Linked DNA regions of Homo sapiens: regions 2 and 3 are each linked to region 1. The links are contacts of gene promoters, found by promoter capture Hi-C in human tissues and cell types (Jung and others, 2019). All regions are on one chromosome and are shown on one strand. The core of a region is centred on a gene start or on the middle of the fragment in contact, and the rest is flanking DNA. Distances in the headings are between cores, read along the strand shown. Region 1 holds the start of SNRPD1 (small nuclear ribonucleoprotein D1 polypeptide). Region 2 overlaps GREB1L (GREB1 like retinoic acid receptor coactivator). Region 3 overlaps ESCO1 (establishment of sister chromatid cohesion N-acetyltransferase 1).

What was found. Contacts are between HindIII fragments. The study calls those that stand out against the background at their distance.
Region 2: a fragment that was not itself captured here is called in contact with the fragment with the promoter of SNRPD1 in region 1 in 2 of the 25 tissues and cell types used here (lymphoblastoid cells and stomach).
Region 3: a fragment that was not itself captured here is called in contact with the fragment with the promoter of SNRPD1 in region 1 in 2 of the 25 tissues and cell types used here (dorsolateral prefrontal cortex and thymus).

Annotation. Positions count from the first base shown.
Region 1 is chr18:21,610,152-21,614,183 of GRCh38, forward strand. SNRPD1 (small nuclear ribonucleoprotein D1 polypeptide) reads left to right here and starts at 2,163. Exons shown (of 4, transcript NM_006938.4): 1 at 2,163-2,292. The coding sequence starts at 2,279. RefSeq lists a silencer at 1,912-1,961 and an enhancer at 2,222-2,311. The HindIII fragment of the contact is 13,798 bases long and covers 1-4,032 here.
Region 2 is chr18:21,503,554-21,507,585 of GRCh38, forward strand. GREB1L (GREB1 like retinoic acid receptor coactivator) reads left to right here. Exons shown (of 33, transcript NM_001142966.3): 24 at 1,859-2,014; 25 at 2,257-2,396. Among named protein-coding and RNA genes, the nearest start is that of GREB1L-AS1, 55 kb to the left of the region's middle. The HindIII fragment of the contact is 5,116 bases long and covers 1-4,032 here.
Region 3 is chr18:21,526,977-21,531,008 of GRCh38, forward strand. It overlaps ESCO1 (establishment of sister chromatid cohesion N-acetyltransferase 1), which reads right to left. Exons shown (of 12, transcript NM_052911.3): 12 at 2,308-3,514. The coding sequence ends at 3,367. Among named protein-coding and RNA genes, the nearest start is that of ESCO1, 72 kb to the right of the region's middle. The HindIII fragment of the contact is 6,958 bases long and covers 1-4,032 here.

The DNA of each region.
Region 1 (4,032 bases), core at 913-3,412:
GAGTTCTGTTGATCAGCGATGAAGTCTAGGCTAGAGATACAAATCAAAGTCATGGTTTTGGAGGAGATTACCAGGTTAAAAGAAAAAGTATACATAAAAAGACTACAGCCACAAGCCGGGAAACACTGTGACATGTATTGGCTCCATAGGGAAGGAGGAACCAGCTAAGGAGATTTAGAAAGAGTAGTTAGAGGCTGGGCATGGAGGCTCTGGGCCTGTAAACCCAGTACTTTGGGAGGCCACGGCAGTGGAATCTCTTGAGCCCAGGAGTTGGATACTAGCCTGGGCAACATAGTAAGACCTCTTCTCTACGAAATAAAAAATAAAATATTAGCTGGGCATGGTGGCACGCACTTGTGGTCCCAGCTACTGAGAAGGCTGAGGCAGGAGGATAGCTTGAGCCCAGACGGTCAAGGCTGCAGTGAGCCCTGATTGTGCCATTGCACTCCTGCCTGGGCAACAGAGCGAGAAACCCTGTCTATAAACAAAACAAAACAAAGCAAGAGTAGTTAGTAGGATAAGGAAAAAGGCCAGGTGAGCTTGGCATCCTGAAACCCGAAAGAGGGAAGGGGAGTGTTTGTGTTAAATTTTGATGAAGCTCACATACTAAAGAGACAATAATGCCGGGCGCGGTGGCTCACGCCTATAATCCCAGCACTTTGGGAGGCCGAGGCGGGCGGATCACGAGGTCAGGAGATCGAAACCATCCTGGCTAACCCCGTCTCTACTAAAAATACAAAAAAATTAGCCGGGCGTGGTGGCTGGCGCCTGTAGTCCCAGCTACTTGGGAGGCCGAGGCAGGAGAATAGCGTGAACCCGGAAGGCGGAGCTTGCAGTGAGCCGAGATCGCGCCACTGCACTACAGCCTGGGCGACAGAGGGAGACTCTGTCTCAAAATACATACATACGTACGTACATACATACATACATAAAAAGACGATAATTAGCGGGCCATGGTGATGCGCGCCTGTAATCTCAGTTACTGGAGAGGCTGAGGCACGAGAATGGCTTGAAACCGGGAGGCAAGGGTTGCAGTGAGCTGAGATCGCGCTACTGCACTCCGGCCTGGGCGACAGAGTGAGACTCCATCTCAAAAAAATAAAAAATATATATATTTTGATGAGATGTTGAGAAAGATGAAGACTGAAAAGTTTGTCTTATAGATTGGAACTTAAAGTGAAAATAATCTGCTACATTGTGGATTTTATTTTTATTATTATTATTTTTTGAGACGGAGTCTCGCTCTGTTGCCAGGCTGGAGTGCAGTGGCACGATCTCAGCTCACTGCAACCTCCACCTCCTGGGTTCAAGCGATTCTCCTGCCTCAGCCTCCCGAATAGCTGGGACTACAGGCGCGCATCACCACGCCCCGCTAATTTTTGTATTTTTAGTAGAGGCGGGGTTTCACCATGTTGGCCAGAATGGTCTCGATCTCTTGACCTCGCTATCTGCCCGCCTCGGCCTCCCAAAGTGCTGGAATTACAGGCTTGAGCCACAGCGCCTGGCCCATTGTGTGATTTGCTTCAGGTACAGTAAGCAATGCTAGGTTCCTGGTGTTGGAACAGAATCAGCATAAGACTTTGGGCTTCTCTAAGACCTTCTTTCCGTTCAGTGAGGAATTTGTATTAGGTGCTGCACTCACAGTGCCCTGCTGTTCAGAAACGTGATGGTGACAGTACTTTTTTTTTTTTTTTTTTTTTTTGGGAGACGGAGTTTCGTTCTTGTTGCCCAGGCAGGAGTGTAGTGGTGCGATCTCCGCTCACTGCAGCCTCCGCCTCCCGGGTTCAAGCGATTCCCCTGCCTCAGCCTTCCGAGTAGCTGGGATTACATGCGCCCGCCACCACGCCCAGCTAATTTTTTGTCTTTTTAGTAGAGACGGGGGTTTCACCCTGTTGGCCAGGCTGGTCTTGAACTCCTGACCTCAGGTGATACCCCCGCTTCGGCCTCCCAAAATGCGACAGTCCTATTAATTGGATTTAATCTCTTCGAATCTCCCTCTCTTGTAGGACATTTTTCTCCAAGACCAGCCCTCGATACCCTCAGCCGTCGCAAGGCAACCTCCAGCCGCCAGGGGCCGCAGTCGCGCTCCTCGCGGCCGGAAGAGAGTGCGGCCCAGCGCAGCCTCGGCGTTTCCGCCATGCGCCTGCAGTGCTCCGCGCGCTCTTGACGTCCGGAGCCCCTGGAGTAGGCGCTTCCGGCCATTCATACTGCAGTCGGTCAGTGTTCGGTTGAAGGATTCTGTGTGCTGTCGGACCCAGAGGGTGACGGCGCCGCTAGGATGAAGCTCGTGAGGTGAGGGAGTGACCAAGCAGCTCTGGGGGCTGTGAAGGGAGGGCTTGGCCCGGAGTCCGGAAGGCTGGGCTCTCCCATTTGCAGGAGGCGGGAAAGCCGCGTGTGCGCGGCCTGCTAACGGCCGGCCTTACTGCGCCCGCAGCTCGTGCTCGGGCCTGGGCTTCCGCCTGGGTCGCTCGCGGATCCCGCGTGTCTTCCAAGAGATTGGTATAAAGGCCGAGCCTTTTCTTCCTGCCTAGTGACTTAGAGGCTTTAAAGATGCAGCGCCTCCTGGGACACATCTCCCTCTTACAGTTACTCATTTTCTTTTTGAGTGGAACTCCCCAGTCCTGCTTAACAGTACTTAGAAAGCTGTATGAGCTTATCTGGAAACAAACCTGTTTGCAAAATATTTTAAATCAGAGAAGGACTTCCGGCTTCACAAGTTTTTGTTTTTTTAAATAAAGATGGTGTCTCACTTTGTTGACCAGGCTGGTCTCGAACTCCTGGGCTCAAGCTTTCTGCCCGCCTCGCCCTTCCAAAGGGCTGAGATTACAGGTTTGAGCCACCGTGCCCGGCCGATTTTTAAGTTTACCTTTTTATCCTCCTTAGATTTGTGATTGATTATTCCACCTCTATTTCCCTTTAAGGTAGGCTTTTTATTTAGGAAAATCTCCCAATATAGGGCAGAAATTATCACAACGTAATTGTGGCTGATTACTCAGATAATATATAGTTCTCCTGTTTTATTTCTTAAGAAATAAATAGACCCTGTCAGTTAGGTGAGTCTTCTGAAAACTTGTTTGCTGATGTGAATAATTCTAAACTACCTGCAAGTAGATTTGGTTTTGGTGTTTTTCCTTGAGACTAAGCCTGGAACAGAGGCAGACGTTTCTAATAGCTAAGCCAGCAATTATAAATATTTAGCTTGTTTTTTTCCTGTTGAGTCAAGGATTGTCAATATCCGCTAAATAGTTATTGGGCACCTGTTACATACTAGGCGCTGGTAATAGGATTTTTTAAAAGGCAGAGTACCTGCCTTGTTGGAGTTTTCTGGTTAGTGGGGATGACAGACAAGTAGATAACGTCTGAAGTAACGTTTGTTTGAAACGTTTTAAATAACACATAAAAGCCTTCAACACTCAGGGAGGAGGCCAGGCGCAGTGGCTCACGTCTGTAATCCCAGCACTTTGGGAGGCCAAGGCGGGTGGATCACTAGGTCAGGAGTTCGAGACCAGCCTGACCAACATGGTGAAACCCCGTCTCTACGAAAATTACAAAAGTTAGTGGGGCGTGGTGGCGCGCGCCTTTAATCCCAGCTACTCAGGAGGCTGAGGCAGGAGAATCGCTTGAACCCAGGCGGCAGAGGTTGCAGTGAGCCGATATCGTGGCACTACGCTCCAGCCTGGGCGACAGAGCGAGACTCCATCTCAAAAAAAAAAAAAAAAAAAAAAAATTATATTCAGGGAGGAGTTGGTACAAAAGACATTTAAGGTTAATTTTTGGTATATTTTTATTTGAACTATAACTTTGGATAGGAAGTCATAGAATTTAAAGTGCATTTTTTAGGCTGGACGTGGTGGCTCACGCCTGTAATCCCAACACTTTGGGAGGCTGAGGCAGGCGGATCGCCTGAGGTCAGGAGTTCAGGACCTGCCTGGCCAACGTGGTGAAACCCATTCTTTCGAAAAAATACAAAAATTAGCCGGGCATGGTGGCGGGCGCCTGTAATCCCAGCTACTCAGGAGGCTGAGGTAAGAG
Region 2 (4,032 bases), core at 599-3,098, 110 kb before region 1:
CTTGGCACTTTATTATCATTATTATTATTATTATTATTTTTGAGATGGAGTCTTGCTCTGTCACCCAGGCTGGAGTGCAGTGGTGCGATCTTGGCTCACTGCAACCTCTGCTTCCCAGGTTCAGGCGATTCTCCTGCCTCAGCCTCCCAAGTAGCTGGGATTAAAGGCATGCACCACCACACCCAGCTAGTTTTTTGTATTTTTAGTAAAGACAGGGTTTCACCACTTTGGCCAGACTGGTCTCGAACTCCTAGCCTTAGGGGATCCACCCACCTCGGCCTCCTAAAATGCTGGGATTACAGGTGTGAGCCACTGCACCTGGCCAATCATAAAAAATATCTGTTAGACACCAGCTGTGTGCCTGCAACTGTCTAGGCACTTTATTTTATTTATTTATTTATTTTTTGAGATAGACTCTTACTCTGTCACACAGGCTGGAGTGCAGTGGCACGATCTCAACTCACTGCAACCTCCGTCTCAGGGGTTCAAGTGATTCTTAGCCTCCTGAGTAGCTGGACTACAGGCATGTGCCACCACACCCAGCTAATTTTGGTATTTTTGGTAGAGACAGGGTTGGCCAGGCTGGTCTCGAATTCCTGACCTCAAATGATCTGCCTGCCTCGGCCTCCCAAAATGCTGAGATTACAGGTGTGAGCCACCATGTCCAGCGTGTCTTGGCACTTTAAATGTACCATCTCTGGCTGGGCAGGGTGGCTCACACCTGTAATCCCCTGTGCTTTGGGAGGCCAAGGTGGGAAGATGGCTTGAGGCTAGAAGTCTGAGATCAGCCTGAGCAGCAGGGAGACCCCATCTCTCACAAAAATTTTAAAACTCTAGCCAGGTGTGATGGTACACGCCTGCAATCCTAGCTACTCAGGAAGCTGCAGTGGAAGGATTCCTTGAGCCCAGGAGTTCAAGGTTGCAGTGAGCTTACATTGCATCACTGCATTCTAGCCTGAGTGACAGAGTGAGACCCTGTCTCCAAAAACAAAAAGAAAAGGGTCTGGTATGGTGGCTTACACCTGCGGTTCCAGCACTTTGGGAGGCTGAGGCAGGATGATTGCTTGAGCCCAGCAGTTCAAGACCAGCTTAGGCAATACAGTAAGACCCTGCCTCTACAAAAACGTTAGCTGGGCATGGTGGCACGTGCCTGTAGTCCCAGCTACTCAGGAGGCTGAGGTGGGAGGATCATTTGATCCCAGGTGGTTGAGGCTGCATTAATGCTTACTATAATCTGGGGACTCAGGGTTAAGTACAGTGCCTGAAGGTGTGACGCTGTAAGGGGTAGGGCCAGGATTCACACCCAGGTCTACTGGCTCTCAACCGTGACTGCATATTGGAACACTCTGAGGCGCCTTAAACAATATGACTGGATCCTGGGCAGTCAGACATTCTGACTGAACTATTCTGGGATGTGTGGCCTGAGTGTGGGAATTTTTACCAGCTCCCAGCTGATTGTAACGTGCGGAAGACATTGGGAATCTTGCTCAGTGCATCCTAAAATCTCTTGGGTGTCAGTATATTAACACCCCACAGTTAAAATCTCAAGACAGAAATAAGATCATCCAAAATTAAACTTTTAAGGAAATTTGGCCTGGTGGAGACTAGGTTATCTTACAGATGCCAGAGTTTGTGAATTGGGTCTGCAGAGACGAATGCTGGGGGCCAGTGAGGGCAAATGTTCCTCTCAGCATGGGTGTGAACAATTCTGCCTCCTCTACTGGGACAGGGGAGCTCATTTTTCAGAAATGCCTTTGTCCACCCATCTGGGCTCTACGTCCCATAAAAGCCATTCTCTCTGACACATGGGGAAGAGGGAGGCCAGTCACCTGCTCTGCACACTTCCTTCTTGTCCTAGATCACAATGAAAGCAGTGAAGTGAGCCAGTCAGAGGGAGAGCCCTGGCCTGACATCGAGAGCTTCAGTAAAATGCCTTTTGATGTCAGTGTGCATGACCCCAAGTACAGTTTGATGAGCCTGGTGTATACTGAGAAGCTGGCAGGGGTCAAACAAGGTCAGTGCAATCAGCCAAGTTCACCTCCTCTCTGGGTTAAGGGGACACTAGCTCAGGGTGCCTTACATCTCACTTTTCTTTCGCTCTTATGCGCATCATTTTTTAAATTTTCATAACTGTTTCTTAGGGCATAAATTACAGAATACATGGAAAAGTCATTTTGGGGAAAGAGGGACTTTTCTTTCCAGGCATAGGGAAAACATGTTATCTCATGGGATGGCTTTTTGCCCCTTTATACACAGAAGTGATAAAGGAATCCAAAGTTGAAGAGCCCAGGAAACGGGAAACTGTATCCATAATGCTGACCAAATATGCAGCCTATAACACCTTTCACCACTGTGAACAGTGCCGCCAGTACATGGACTTCACCTCTGCCTCCCAGGTACCATCCCACCTTCGCCCTCGCCCTCTGTCACCCAGTATGGATTTTGTATGTAAGGGTGGGGGGTGGAGGGATGAAAAATAAGGCCCCTAGTTTCAGGCCTCTGGTAAAGGATAGTTTACTCATAAGAAGGAGCCACTCATTGGTGAGAAAAATGCATGAAGGCTGGGCGCGGTGGCTCACCCTGTAATCCCAGCACTGTGGGAGGCCGAGGCGGGTGGATCACCTGAGGTCAGAAGTTCGTGATCATCCTGGCCAACATGGTGAAACCCCGTCTCTACCAAAAATACAAAAAATTAGCCGGGTGTGGTGGCACATGCCTGTAATCCCAGCTACTCAGGAGGCTGAGGCAGGAGAAATGCTTGAACCTGGAAGGTAAAGGTTGCAGTGAGCCGAGACCACGCCACTGCACTCCAGCCTGGGTGACAGAGTGGGACTCCGTCTCAAAAAAAAAAAAAGCACAATGCATGAAGCCATAATTAAATGAATGTTGGGTTTATTTGGATTATGGGAGGGAGAGGAGGCAGCTTAGTTTTAGTGTCTTGAATTACTTCTTCAAATGGTTACACGTGTCATGTTTAGGTTAGGAAGTAGCTGAGGTGTTTATTTGCAATCCATATATTACAGTATATTTGATAAAAGGGTTTCCCCCTCTTCCCTTTGGAGCACTGACTAAAATGGCACTATTATCTCAGATCCACAGGGTGTGCCCTTTGAGCTGTGATTCTAACAAGACTGTTGATTTGCACCAACCTAGTCATATTCTCACACCTGCGTGGGGTGGCTTGGCCAGTGGAGTCAGTTTGTTTTATGCAGTGAGAACTGAGACATAGGAATGAAGAACATGGGCCAATAACCCTTAGTATGTGGCTTCTTTTTGGCTAGTGCATCTTTAAGCACAAAAGATGGAAAGGCAACAAATGATAGTAATATCCAGAGCTTACTTCCCCAAATTCATCTTTATTTTTATAACTTGGCTCTGAACACACAGAAACAACTCCTGCTTCTGGTAGGCCATACTGACTCCCCTAAACCTGTTTCTGCTCTTCAGGGCCAGGTCGTCACCCTTTTCCCACATCTCATCCTGAAATACAAATGAGTACTAGAAAGGATATACTTTAAAAAACTGATCGAATCATTCTGCCCTTCTAATACAAGTTACCTTTTATATCCCATTTGTTTTCTTGGTGTCACTGAAAACTTTTGGTGGGCTGCTTTGAAATAAGCTCATAAAAGCTTTATAGAATATAGAAGACCCAAGTCCCCTGGTCTACAGATTATAGGTTTTTAGAAAATCTCTTTATTAGAAATCCTCTATTCATAAAGTTTCTGTGTGACTACAGTACTAAGTAGTATATTCCCACATTTCTGAGGCAGAATAAACTAGAATTAAGGGAAGAAGTGTAATGTTATTTTTCTATGAAATATAGTATTTTGGTTAAAACCATTGGGAAACCTACTTCGATTCTAGTTGCTGATGAAAATTGATGGTATCCTTTTATTAAGCCAAATCTTATCCACATTAAAAGCGTGAAAAGACCTATTATATAATTATTCACTGAGATAGGTTACTGAAAAAACGTGAACTCTGCAGCACTTTAAATGTAGGTTAGATTTATATTTGGCTTCAGTGAGT
Region 3 (4,032 bases), core at 831-3,330, 83 kb before region 1:
CAATTACAGACTCACCCTCTTCTACAGTCTGTGGCCATTAGTGTACACTCACCGTGTCCCTGCTGCCTCCACCACTCCACTGAGACTGCTCTTTTCCTAACATCACTTGGGCTCTCTTCAGTCTTCAACTGTGGTATGACAGGGTTGATCATTCTTTGATTCTTGACATTTTTCCCTTGGTTTCTACCACTCTCTTCTGGCTCTCCTACCTTGCTGCTCATGCCTTCTTAGGCAGTCTTCTTTGAGACTCTTAAATGATGGTGTACCTCACAACTCTCTTCTACCTTCTCATTTTACAAACCCCAGGGTGACCTTGTGAACCTTCAAATAAATAAGTGAACTCATAAATTTGTTTCTCAGTTAGAACCTTTCTGAAACTCTAGATTCACATATCCAATTGTATACTAAAAGGTTTCTCCACTTAAGAGACTCTTTCTACAACCACCTTAAAATCTTGACCAAAACTGAGGACATCCCCATCCAATCCTCCCAACCTAATTCCCCTGTATTCCCATCTGTCAATCTAATTCAATTACCCAAACCAAAATTCCCACTTACCTTAACCTCTTTGCCATGATCTTTTTCTGGTTGTTTATAAATTCCTATCAATTCAACTGTGTCAATTCTTCAATTTTATCTTTTCAATGTGTATCTGTCTCGTCTTCATCTCCACATCACAGCTTTAGTTCAGTGTTTCAACACTTTTCACACAAACGGCTCTTAATTATCATCTAAGTTCCAGATTCCTCAATTATAAACCCTACCTCATAGGACTGTCGTAATGATTACATAAAATAATGCAGGACTAAACACACAGGGTCTGACACATAGCAAACACTCAAATGTTAGGTATTAACTAATAATACTATTCTTAGAGAAATACCTAAATTGTAAAATTTGGGAGGCTATATCTTCAGTATAAACATGAAAATAAACTGGTTTCTCAGTAATAATAACATATAAACCAACCACCCAATATACCCTCTTCCACCTCCAGGTCACCTTGAAACCAAGTCAAAAGTAGTCAAAGTAGTATACTATTGTTTATGGAAATTGGACCTGTATTATGGGATTAACAGTTACTAGAGAGTCTACACTATATCCCAAAATTTCATTCTGTTTTTTTTTTTTTTTTTTAAATCATGGTACCTGTCAGGCAAACAATGAGACCAGGATTGACTAGAACAGTCTCAAGCCCAAAGGGAAATGACAGTATCAAAAGCTAGGGCCAGGTGCAGTGGCTCACACCTATAATCTCAGCACTTTGCGAGGCCGAGGCAGGTGGACCACGTGAGGTCAGGAGTTCAAGACCAGCCTGGCCAATGTGGTGAAACCCTGTTTCTACTAAAAAATACAAAAACAAATTAGCCGGCCGTGGTGGCAGGTGCCTGTAATCCCAGCTACTCTGGAGGCTGAGGCAGGAGAATCGCTTGAGCCTAGGAGGTGGAGGTTGCAGTGAGCTGAGGTCATGCCATTGCACTCCAGCCTGGGTGACAGAGTGAGCCTCTGTCTCAAAAAAAAAAAAAAAAAAAAAAAAAAGCTAGACCAGCTTGATGAATCACGGGGAAATATTTACCGTGCCCTATCATTCTACCCATACAAAATGTAGAGTCTTATACCACTCTAGAAAAAAAAATTTTTTTTTGAGGTGGAGTTTTTTGCTCTTTTTGCTCAGGCTGGAGTACAATGGTGCAATCTCTGCTCACTGCAATCTCCACCTCCCAGGTTCCAGCTATTGTCCTGCCTTAGCCTCCTGAGCAGCTGGGATTACAGGTGCATGCCACCAAAACCAGCTAATTTTTGTATTTTTAGTAGAGACGGGATTTCACCATATTGGTCAGGCTGGTCTCGAACTCCTGACCTCGTGATCCGCCCGCCTCAGCCTTCCAAAGTCCTGGGATTATAGGCGTGAGCCACCGCGCCTGGCCTAGAAATTGTAAAAGCAAAAATTTATAGGGAAATAAAATGTATACCTGTTAATTTAAGGCCCTAAATTTTAGCCAGTTTTCAACTGAGATATGATCATTTCAGCTCACAAAAATAACCTAAGTTGAACCACAGTGGTAATTCATTCTTGGGCTGTGGGCCCTTCATTTATTTGCAACATCATAAAAGTACTATGTTACTAAAATAATCAGAAAGGATTTTGCCTTTGGAAATAAAGTTCAGCTGATTTGCTGCTGACACAATGATCCTTTGGCAAACTGGTGGAAACTGCCTTTAGGAAGCCAATGTTTTAATCATATTTCAAGATATCAAACCAAAAAAACACCCTGAAAAAGCACAAATGACAACACACCATTATTCTCAGTTAGTACATTGGTCACTTAGAAAAAGCTATCAAGTATTTTATTATTTTTATTCTACATTATATACAGGTCATAAAAGGCCACAGCAGTTTTTCAACATATAAACCCTTTAAAAGTAGAGGGCACTATGAAGGATAGACAAGTATCAAAATGAAGTCCAGTAATGAGGGCATATACTCAGTGCAGTATTTCTGAGGAATAACAAAGCAGATACCGAGTCATCCATACTTTGCTTCCAAGTATTCTATACGTTTTTATAAACCTCTTTGAGATTTGTTAACAGCCTAGGTGTGCCAAGTTGCCATTTATTTTAAAAGTGAAACCAGAATGAAAGAATAATGAATCTAGGAGGGTACCTTTCCTAATGCTTGTCATTTACAGCTCTCCAAGAAGGAAAGCCTCAATTCTTTACCACTTTCTACTTCCTCCTTCCATCAAAGATAGGAAAGAGAAAAATCAGGAAAAAAAAGCTCAATATTCTAATTCTTCCTATTTAGCTGGAGCTTTCCTTTTCTATAGGGGTTTCTTCAAAGTATAGTTCAGGCCTTTTAAAAATTAGCTTCAAATTCCAAAACACTTAATATTGCACCCTCCTTGAACAATAACTAAAAAAATTGGTTTCCACTCTGTGAAAATACAATCTTTAAGCCTATCACTGGTATCAGCAGATCAATATAAAAAAATACAGTACCAAGCTACACTGGTATATTTCCATATTAAGAACTTCAAAATATACTTATCACTGAGACCATAGTCCTTGCATTAGTTTTCAGTCCACTATGAACAATTATCTGCTGCATGTAAACATGTCTAAATAACTATAGATAAAATACATCAATCATAAATTTCTGTAAAAGATAATAAAATATCTTCTTTAAAAAACAAAACAATAAGCTATTACTGCATTGTTTCCAATTTTATGAAAATGGAACAACCATATGGTTGTTGCCAGTCCTGAGTTCATTGTAATAAAAATGGCCCTAGTTCCTGGTTAAAGTCAGCAACCAATCCATTCTCTTCAATAGATGTCTTCTAGTGGTGTAGGCAAGAATTTGTTTTACGTGCTATTCTGTCCATTAATAAAATTATATACCAGAAATTGACCAGTGCCACAGTACTGTGTTGCAAACAGCTTTCCATCAGGAGTGGGATCTGAGAAAGCAATTTCTTCTTTGCTCAAATATGAGCCATATATAAAGTTACTCCTATTAAAAAAAAATGGGGGGGGGGAAGGGTTAAGTGTGAAATGTTAAAAAAAAAAAAATTCTAATCATTAAAACTGGAATAACCTGTCAAATACAATTTGACTAAAAAAGCTTTTTAGATACTGCTGTATGTGCTCAAAATTTTTGAAAATAATTATTCATCTATAATATCAATAACCTGAGGTTAAATTTTAATAAAAGCAACAATGTAAAAACATTTACCCAACATCTTTTCATGATAAAAATATTCAACTAAGAGTAGAAATATTTCCTCAACCTGATCAAAGACATCAAGGAATATCAGAGTTAATGGTGAATGACTGAAAACTGTTCCTCAAAGATCAGGAATAAGAGAAGACTACTCTCACCTCTTCTATTCAATATTGTATTGGAGGTTCTCGTCATGAGGAAAAGAAATAAAAATCATCCAGATTGGAAAGAAAGAAATAAAACTATCTCTTTTGCAGATGAAAAGGCCTTGTTTATAGAAAATCCTAAAAAATTCACAAAAACAAACA